Linked DNA regions of Homo sapiens: all the other regions are linked to region 1. Evidence: promoter capture Hi-C in 16 types of primary human blood cells and fetal thymus (Javierre and others, 2016). All regions are on one chromosome and are shown on one strand. The core of a region is centred on a gene start or on the middle of the fragment in contact, and the rest is flanking DNA. Distances in the headings are between cores, read along the strand shown. Region 1 holds the start of SERPINC1 (serpin family C member 1). Region 2 overlaps MRPS14 (mitochondrial ribosomal protein S14). Region 3 has its middle 77 kb from the start of FASLG.

Evidence for each region. Contacts are between HindIII fragments. The CHiCAGO score rates a contact against its expected background, and 5 or more counts as called.
Region 2: a contact is called between a fragment that was not itself captured here and the fragment with the promoter of SERPINC1 in region 1, in 1 of 17 cell types (neutrophils). The highest score is 6.6, in neutrophils.
Region 3: a contact is called between a fragment that was not itself captured here and the fragment with the promoter of SERPINC1 in region 1, in 1 of 17 cell types (total B cells). The highest score is 5.0, in total B cells.

Annotation. Positions count from the first base shown.
Region 1 is chr1:173,916,057-173,919,365 of GRCh38, forward strand. It overlaps SERPINC1 (serpin family C member 1), which reads right to left and starts at 1,271. Exons shown (of 7, transcript NM_000488.4): 1 at 1,163-1,271. The coding sequence starts at 1,203. LOC124904457 (a long non-coding RNA gene) reads left to right here and starts at 444. Exons shown (of 2, transcript XR_007066739.1): 1 at 444-884. The HindIII fragment of the contact is 6,307 bases long and covers 1-3,309 here.
Region 2 is chr1:175,013,345-175,016,522 of GRCh38, forward strand. MRPS14 (mitochondrial ribosomal protein S14) reads right to left here. Exons shown (of 3, transcript NM_022100.3): 3 at 1-1,507. The coding sequence ends at 1,325. Among named protein-coding and RNA genes, the nearest start is that of MRPS14, 8.5 kb to the right of the region's middle. The HindIII fragment of the contact is 1,233 bases long and covers 1,284-2,516 here.
Region 3 is chr1:172,734,015-172,737,324 of GRCh38, forward strand. No RefSeq gene overlaps it. Among named protein-coding and RNA genes, the nearest start is that of FASLG, 77 kb to the left of the region's middle. The HindIII fragment of the contact is 1,346 bases long and covers 1,044-2,389 here.

The sequences.
Region 1 (3,309 bases), core at 21-2,520:
CATCCCTTTTTATTGCCTGGAATTTTTAATAGTCGCCAACATGGATTCAATGAAGGTAAATGAAGCTAATTTCACATTTTAAAAAAATGAGGTAGTTGGGACACTCGATGAAGCAAATCAAGAGATAAAGTCTCTTGTAATATTTTTTGTAGATAAGACAGGGTGGGGCAGGGGCTGCCTCCAGCTGGTTTATGGTTCCTGCGTGTACACAAGGGGGTCTGTGTGTGGGTACTGGATCTTCCCATCTTCTCCTGGGAGAGAAAGACAGGCACCCAGTGCAGATTCACGGACGTGGTCCGTTGGGCAAGCCTGGGGCTGGCTGGAAGCTGGGGCAGCTGAGGGGGACTTGCCTTCTTGCGTGGTCTGAGTCCAGTTCTGCAGCCCTTTCAAGAACAGAGGTGCAAAGCCGGAGAGAAGCAGCGGCACCAAGGGAGATGTGGAAGGCAGGCTGAAGAAGCAGAGAGAGAGAGGAGAGGACCCTGCCATTCATCTTCCCATCTCCACTGCCTTCGGTTGCCCACTCTGTCCTTCAACTACATTTGGAAATGCAATTTGAGGCTGAGAGGACCCTGGGAGGGCTATGAAGCACAAATTAAAACCAAGACAGTTGTGCCACCACCCCGTTTCTAGCCTCCTGTGACAACTCAGATGAAGAAGGGAGTGTGTGTGGCATTGAGGGAGGGACAACTCTCATTGTGAGAAAAGGAAGCAGTTTTGGCCCTTTAGTCAAAGGTCACTGGGATTTGGGTGGGGGTGGAGTGGGGTGGATCTGAGTGGAAGAAAGAGCAAAAAGGGAGTGAGGAGGTCCTCATGGGTAGCATTTGCTCTCTTCCCGGATGGATGGCAGGCCCTGGGGATTCCCCTTGGAGCGTCCCCTGGATCCCGTGAGTGCTGACTTCCTGCACAGCATCTTTACACCAGGGATGACATCCCCCTTGTTTCTTAGGCTAGGGACCCAAGGGGTAGCTTAGGAAAGGCCTTACCCCAAGAGGTGGGGTGGGAGGGAGAGCACTTGAAATGACGTCTTCCAAACAGGTCTTTGACTGTAACTACCAGGGAGAGGGCCTGGTCTTCTCAAAGGTGTTGGAGGTCATTCCTGTGAGTCCTTTGGAGGTCACAAAACCCAGTAGGGGCAGGCAAGGGGAAAGCTCACCCCTCTTACCTTTTTCCAGAGGTTACAGTTCCTATCACATTGGAATACATGGCCGCTAATCTTCCACAGGGCTGGGCAAGTGGAGATAGTGTGATCTGAGGCAATCCGCCTGAAAACTGGTTCTTTCCTCTAAATCTCGCAGAGGTTCCAGAGGACAGGGTGGGGCAGAGAGCTGGTCAGGAGGGGGAACTGAGGTCAAAGGCTGATGACCAGTTCCCAGGGTTAAGCAAAGTGTAGAGCCCAGTGTTGTTTAATTAGTAGAGAAGTTTTAAAGTTCAATCAGGCCCAGGGAAAGCCTGAGCCACCTCTCTTGCCCACACTCCCTCACTCTTCTCCTCAGCTTTATAGAAAAGGAAAAGGAGAGTATGTTCATACCCTCAAACTTGGTTAGGAAACTAACCAAGGAAACAAACTTGGTTCATACCCACCCTCTCTCATAGTTTTCTTTATGGAGAGAGGGAGAGAGAGAGAGAAATATCTAATTAGAGAAGGCAAAGAGGGACAAGCTGCTACCTTCAGGCATCTGAGTGCCAAGGTGTCCCTGGCACAGACAAGGAAAACACAATGGTTACACCTGTGGCCCACAGAGAGACCCATTCCCCAGCAGCCCTGAAGTGGTGGGACAGGGAGAGAAGAGCAGGGCCTCGGGGTGCATGCCAAGCGCGTTTCTAAGGGGTGTGAGCAGCTGGGAAATACTTAGCAAAACTCTACTGGGGGATCAGGAGACAGAATGCGGGGCAGGTGAAAAACCCACGTACAACTGCTGAAATAAAAACAAACTAAATTATATTTATGTGTATCGTTATTTTTATTAGTTATTGGGGAGATTGGGTAAATTCAAACTAGTGGAGATAAAGGGCAGGTTTGTTTACATTTCCCTCTTCTGAAATAGCCAAAAGCACCATCACAAGGACTGCAGCCACCAAGTTCACAGGGCGCATGTGCCTCCTGCTGTGTGATCAAGGACTCCTTGTAGTTGTTGTTGCAGTCATAGGCATTTTCGAGAGCTCTTCGTTCATGAGAGAGGACATCTCTCCTGAACTGAAGCTGTGTCTAAGTTCTTGGCTGATTCAGACCCTGGATCCTTTGAAGCCCTCCATGTGCAGTGTGAACAGTAGCCGAGAACTGTCCCAAAGGGCCCCAGAATGCCCAGAGGCTCATCTGTCACCCTAGATTAAAGACTATTGAAAAGTCTCCTGTTCAACCACTTGAGTTCAACAAATACACGAGTGCTGCTTGTGCCAGCAGACACTGTTCTTGGGGCTGGGATTCCATTCGGGGGAGACATACAGCAATCACATAAAGAATCAGTATTTTAGGCCAAGCGTGGTGGCTCACACCTGTAATCCCAGCACTTTGGTAGGCTGAGGCAGGTGGATCACCTGAGGTCAGGAGTTCGAGACCGGCCTAGCCAACCTGGTGAAACCCCATCTCTACTAAAAATACAAAAAATAGCTGGGCATGGTGGTGGGCACCTGTAATTCCAGCTACTCAGGAGGCTGAGGCAGGAGAATCACTTGACCCCAGGAGGCAGAGGTTGCAGTGAGCCGAGATCGTGCTATTGCACTCCAGCCTGGGTGACAGAGCAAGACTCCATCTCAAAAAAAAAAAATCAGTATTTAAAAAATAAATATGTAACGTGCCAGTCAGATGTTAATAAGGTCCATAGAGAAAACTATAGCAGGGCAAGGATATAGGAAGCAGTGGGAGGAAGTGGGGAGGGCACCATCTGAGAACACTTGGTAGGAAAGGCCTCCCTTAGGAATCATTGTTAGGAAACCAGAATGAAATGATGGAGGGGGCCATATGAATATCTTTAGGAAGAGCTGTCCAAAGAGAAATCAGAAATACAAAGACCTTGAGGTTTCAGGAACATGCTGTTGAGACCTATTGTTCCAGCTTATAGGAGTTATGAGGTTTGTGTCTTGCCAAGAAGGTCCTTGGGGGAGGGCAGATGAGGGGCCCTGCAAAAATATAGGTGATTTGGTGAACATCGCTGGAAAAGATTAGGATGCAGATACTACCAGGTCAAGGAATTAAGAACTATAACATCAGGGTTTGTGTTTAATTTGTTCATCCAGGCTGGATGCAGTGGCTCACATCTGTAATCCTAGCACTTTGGAAGGCCAAGGCTTGAGGCCAGGAGTTCAAGACCA
Region 2 (3,178 bases), core at 650-3,149, 1.1 Mb after region 1:
ATCTTGGAGTTGCCCTCTTGGAATTGCCCTCTACCATCTATCTAGACACTTTTATCAGGAACCCAGAGAACCATCTTTACCTCTTAGATATAATCAGTCTTGTAAGTCTTGCCCAATTTTCTTTCCTAAAACTTTAAAAATCTGTCCTCTCTCCTCTACTAATACCACAATGTTAGTTCAGGCCTTCATCTTCCTCAACAACTAAGACATCCTCCTAACTGGTTGTCTTGCCTGTAGCTTTTTCCTCTCATGGCCATCTGCCACACAGCTGTCACTTACCTGTATTACAAACTGATGATGTCATTCCTGTGCTTAAAACTCTGTAATACCTGGTATGTCAGTCTTAATTCCTTCACATGATTTGTGAGATCCTCCACAATACGGGCCTTGTCTTGTGCTTCATATTTCTGATCTACTGAAGTGACTGTGGTTCTCTGATGCTACAGAGTGCCTTTGCTTCTTTGTGCTTTTGTTCCCTCTGTGTGCAGAAAAAAATCTCACCCCTCACCTCCTGATTTATTAAGTTCTCCAGGAATATTTTCCTGATGTTAAGTAGGTACTTCCATTCAGTATGTATATTTTTATCACTGGGCTGATGATCACACTGTTGAGTTACTGAATGAGAACTTTGTGCTACCCTTACTCATTTCTGTTATGGATTAAATAAACATAAAAATAGGGAATATATACTGTTCCAACAAACTTTTCCTCTTTAGATGGAGACTTTCAAGGACTTAAAGAGGCATAATTTGTTTTAAAGTCCCTTAAGGATGGACAAGAAAACACTTAGTGGTTCTTTTGTTCAGCCATCACAAGAAGAAGTGGAGCATTAGATAATCCAGAACAGCAGCCTTGCTATCCAATCTGTTTATCTAACAATAATAGTTAAGGGGAGCTCTGCAGGTCAGCAAAGCTAGTCCAGGATTACAAACTGCCATACATGAGCTACATGTCAATTAGTTGGATTATGTATAAGATAGCATTTTATGAAATAATGCTCTTAATACAAAAACCCCTATATGTTACTAAAAGATTAAACTTAAAAGGAGGGTATAAAAAACATTCACAGAAAATATTTATTATGCTACTCTTTGTACTATGTATGGGAACAGTATGTTTGTTAAGTCCAAGAGAAAAGATAATTCACTGACATGAAACACCCAAATGTCTTCATTTTAAAAGTAGTTTAGAGATAGCATCAGGTAGGCCAAACAACTGTACTGGGCCCCTGTAGAGATTAGGGTTTGGTCTATTAAAAAAAATCTTTGCTTGCTGGAACTGCAAGCTTGGCTTCCCTGCAAGCTCAATAGGTTCTGGAGCTCATTTACCATGTCGCTCGCTGGATCCCAGAAAGTTGCCCATGGTCAGCTAAGTGACGGAAGACTATACGACTAAGCCTCCAGCGCCGCTTCACACCACGCGGACGGGACGTCATAACACACCGATTTCTGATTCTAACAGGACAGCTATCCCGGGGGAGGGCAGCAATTTCTTCATCAGCCACATCCTAAGGGAAATCACATTATTACACAGATCACATTACATTGTTGCACATGTATTTTGCTCCTTCTCACTTGCAGGTAATTTTCTTTTCTTTTTTTTTTTTTTTTGAGACAGAGTCTCGCTCTGTCACCCAGGCTGTGGGTGTTAGATTGTGCAATGTCACAATCTCAGCTCACTGCAACCTCCGCCTCCTGGGTTCAAGTGATTCTCCTGCCTCAGCCTCCCGAGTAGCTGAGATTACAGGTGTGCACTACCACACTCAGCTAATTTTTTGTATTATTAGTAGAAACGGGGTTTCACCACGTTGCCCAGGCTGGTCTCAAACTCCTGAGCTCTGGCAATCCGCCCATCTCTGCCTCCCAAAGTGCTAGGATTACAGGTGTGAGCCACAGCGCCTGGCCACTGGCAGGTAATGTTCATTGCATGAGTACCATAATTCATTTATCCATCCTACATTTGATGGTCATCTTACGATTTGGGCGAATATAAATAGTGCAGCTACATACTCTTGTTTAACTCATTTGTAAAGTATGTGAATGTATTTCTGTTGCCGCCTCATGTTTTTTGAATCACGAAAGTGAAACCTCTGGAATGATGATCAAATAGGAGGGAATGTGGCTTGAGATAAGACTAGAGAAGGAGGAAGGAGAGTATCACATGGAGCCCTGATGTCTATGGTAAAGATTCTGACAGCTAGAGAAGTAAAGGGGAGAGATCAGATGAGGTTTATATTTAAAAAAAATCATTTGCAAGGTAGAGGATGAATCAGGTAAGGGCAAAGTGGTTGAGGGGAGAAAAGTAGGGATTACAGCAGTAGCTAGGGCTCAGGTTTTGTCAGTAGAGATTTCTTCTTATGTATGTGTTCAAGAGTGTGAGTGTTCATAATATTCACTTTAATCTGATAAGTGTGCTAACAAGTAGATGGACCCTGTGCTAGACTGCGGTGCAAGCAAAATAACACATTAAAATAACACAAATTAAATGAAAGTATATAAAAGCCAAAAATTAACAAAAGCTTATGCATGTGTTACCATTATGAACTAACAGAATTACATAAAACAACATGATTGCCAGGCACAGTGGCTCACGCCTATAATCCCAGCACTTTGGGACGCCGAGGCAGGCGGATCATCTGAGGTCAAGAGTTCGCGACCAGCCTGACCAACATAGGGAAACCCCATCTCTACTAAAAATACAAAATTAGCTGGGTGTGGTGGCACATGCCTGTAATCCCATCTGGCCGGGAGGCTAAGGCAGCAGAATCGCTTGAACCCAGGAGGCAGATGTGGTGAGCCCAGATTGTGCCACTGCACTCCAGCCTGGGCAACAAGAGCAAAACCCCATCTCAAAAAAAAAAAAACAAAAAAAAACCATGATTGAGCCATTGAGTAGTAAACAATAAATGCTATACAAGGAACTGGAGAGGAGAAATGACTGGGCAAGAAGATTGAAGCCAAGTTTCATGGAGGTGGACCTTAAAGAATGGCTAGAAATTATGGATTGATTGATTGATACATACCCCTTCCTTCTTGTTCCCCGAAAGATTTAAGGCAGTTTACAAATGAGGAAACTGGGGCAAAGAGAAATGAGAGTAGGAAAGATAAAAGCCTCAGGACACAAAAGTGCATGCTGTGAAATTAGAACTGGGACATAAATTTGACTTGTAAGCTACTTG
Region 3 (3,310 bases), core at 467-2,966, 1.2 Mb before region 1:
AAGTACAATGTCAAATAAGAGTAGTGAGAGCAGCTAGCCTTGTCTTGGTCCTAAGTATTCACTATTTCTCCATAAAAAATTAACTGTACATTTTTCATAGCTGCCTTCAATCAGTTTAAGAAGACAACCTTATATTTATAGTTTGCTGTAAGTTTTTTAAAAAAATTATGACTGGACATTGAGTTTTGTCAAATGTTTTTTTCTGCATCTATGAAGATAATCAAGATAATCACATAGTTTTTTTTTTTTTAGTTTGCTGATATGATTAATTATACTGATTGATTTTCAAATGAAGAAACATTCTTTCATTTCGTAGATAAACTTATCTTGCTCATGGTGTATATTCCTTCTTATATGTTCCTGGATATTACTTGTTAATAATTCATTGGGAATTTTTCGTGATCATGCTCATGAAGGATATTGGTTTGTAATTTTATTCTCTTGCATACATTTTGTCTGGTTTTGTTGTCAGGGTAATGATGACCTCACAAAAAAATTTAGAAAATATTTCTCCTAGTCTATTTTCTGGAAAAAATTATGTTGATTTAATGTTATTACTTTCTCAAATGTTTGGTTGATATTATCAGTGAAGTCTTGTGGTACTTTTCTTTGTTGGAAGGTTTTAAACTATAAATTCAGCTTTTAATAGATGGCTCAGTTTACTTATTTCTTCTCAAGTGAATTTTGGCAGTGTATCTTTAAAGATTTATTCCATTTTATTTAAGTCATTGAATGTATGGGCATAAAGTTATTTGTAGTATTCTCTTGTACCCTTTTAATGTCTGTAGTATCTGTAGTAATATCCCTTCTTTCATTCCTGATATTGATAATTTGTGTTATCTTTTTTCTGTCTTAGTCTGGCTAGGGGTTTATTAATAATTTTGATGTTTTAATACAATTGATTTTATAAATGTTCTCTATTTTGTGTTTTTAATTTTATTGATTTGTGCTCTTTCTTATTTTCTTCCTTCCATTTGCTTTGTGTTTAATTTGCTCTTATTTTTCTAGTTTCTTAAGGTATAAAGTTGGAATATAAATTTAAAAGCTTTATTCTTTTCTTTTTTTCCTCATGTTTCTTGGCTGGAAGTCAATGGATATTGTCCAGAGTTGAAACATTATTTATTTATGTAGTTATTTTTTGAGACAAGAGTCTTACTCTGTTACCCAGGCTGGAGTGCAGTGGCACAATCTCGGGTCACTGCAAACTCCACCTCCCGGGTTCAAGTGATTCTCATGTCTCGTGTCTCAGTAGCTGGGACTACAGGTGTGTGCCACCACTCCCAGCTATTTTTTTTGTATCTTTAGTAGAGATGGGGTTTCATCATGTTTGCCAGGCTGGTCTTGAACTCCTGGCCTCAAGTGAAGCACCTGCCTTGGCCTCCCAAAGTGCTGGGATTACAGGTGGGAGCCACTGTGTCTGGCCCTGTATTTTAATATTTAGGTAATTTAGAATATTTTCTGAATTCTCTTGAGACTTCCTTTTTGATCAATGGGTTACTTAGAAAGGTTTTACTTAATTTCCAAAATTTTTGGAATTTTCCAGATACCCTCGTTATTAATTTCTAATTTAATTCTCTTACGGTCAAAGAAAACAATGCTTTCTATTGTTTTCAATTGGCTATAGTTTGCTTATGGTGCAGAAGATTGGTAGGTAACCTTTTCTGTAAAGGGTCAGATAGTAAATACTTTTGGTGTTAGGGCCATATGGTCTCTCCTGCACTATTCATCTCTGCCTTTGTGACACAAAAATAGCCACAGACAACACACAAACAAATTGGCATGGTTATGTCTCAATAAGACTAATTTACAAAAATAGATGGTGGGTGAAATTTTGTCCACAGGTTATAGTTTGCTAATCTCTGATCTACCTTGGTGAATGTTCCACATACACTTGAAAAGAATGTATATTCTCTTGTTCTAGGGCAGAATACTTTATAAATATTAATTAGGTCAAGTTGACGGAGAATGTTCAGATCTTCTTTTTTTTGTTTTTGTTCAGAGTCACTTTATTTGAAAGGCTCTGCACATATCTTTGCATACCACAAACTAGAAAAACAAGTTATCATAAATTAGAGAATTAAAAATAAAACACATTGATACAATATTTGAAATATGAAAGACCCTGAGAAGTCATATTTGGTAGTACATTTCAGTCACAACAGGCAAAAGTTTGCTATTTTGAAAAAGAATCAGAAAAAAGGGTGAAAGAGATTTTATGTATTTCTTTCTTCTTCTGTCCAAAATCTAGTTCTTGTGTTTGCTATTTTCACTGCTATAATTTAATTAAAAAGTATATAATCTTCTAAAAATTTCTGGTATAATGCTATTAAAAATACATAGCGATAATGCTTTCACATATATGAGGTTTTCACATATTATATAATATGAAAGCTTATAGTTTTCAAAATTAGGCTTCCCTTTCATAGACTGATGCCTGCCACAAACTATTTACTTTTAAAAGATATTTCCTTTAAATACGCTAGTAAACTATCAGATCACTATATTTCATAGTCTATTATACACAACTGAACATCAGAACCTAGAAACTGAATTGGCAGAAGCAATGATTAAATCTAGACATAACTAAGAAAAAACAAAATTAAGTCCCCAGGAAAAGGCTAAGAGAAGGTACTCTGGGCATTTCTGACACAATTTGTCATAATGTCAAAATAACATGACTTTGTAAATAATATTAACTATATGTAATATTTCTGCCATACAAATGACCTAGAGATTGAATTATAACTTCTGTTAATTTTTATAAAAGATAAGTCTGTTCCAACCAGTATTTAGTTGATGAAGAATAGTGTTCATGGAACTTAGGTCAAATAGGGTTGTTCATAAAATAAATTCATTTTTATCTTTTCTAGAATGTTTTTTTTCTCTCAAAAGACAAGGGACTGAGCAGCTATAAAATGTTCACTTTTCTGGTTGTTCAGGTCTTCTTAATTCTTGCCTATTTTCTACTTCTGTTAATTATCAGGAGGTGCTTTGATGTCTCCAAGTATAATTGTAGATTTGTCCATTTTTCCTTTTAGTTGTATCAGTTTTCGATTCATGTATTTTGAAGCTCTGTGGTTTTGCACATACATACCTGGATTGTTATGTGTTCTTGGTATGTTTGCCTCTCTTCCTCCCTGACAATGTTCCTTGTTCTGAAGTTTGCTTTGATAACAATATAGCCATTCTTGCATTCTTTTTGTTAGTGTATGTTGATGGTTTGTCATTTTCTATTCTTTTATTTTTAATTGATCTATATAATAATATTTATAGTAAGCTGCTTATAGACTTTAATTGTATCCCCCAATTT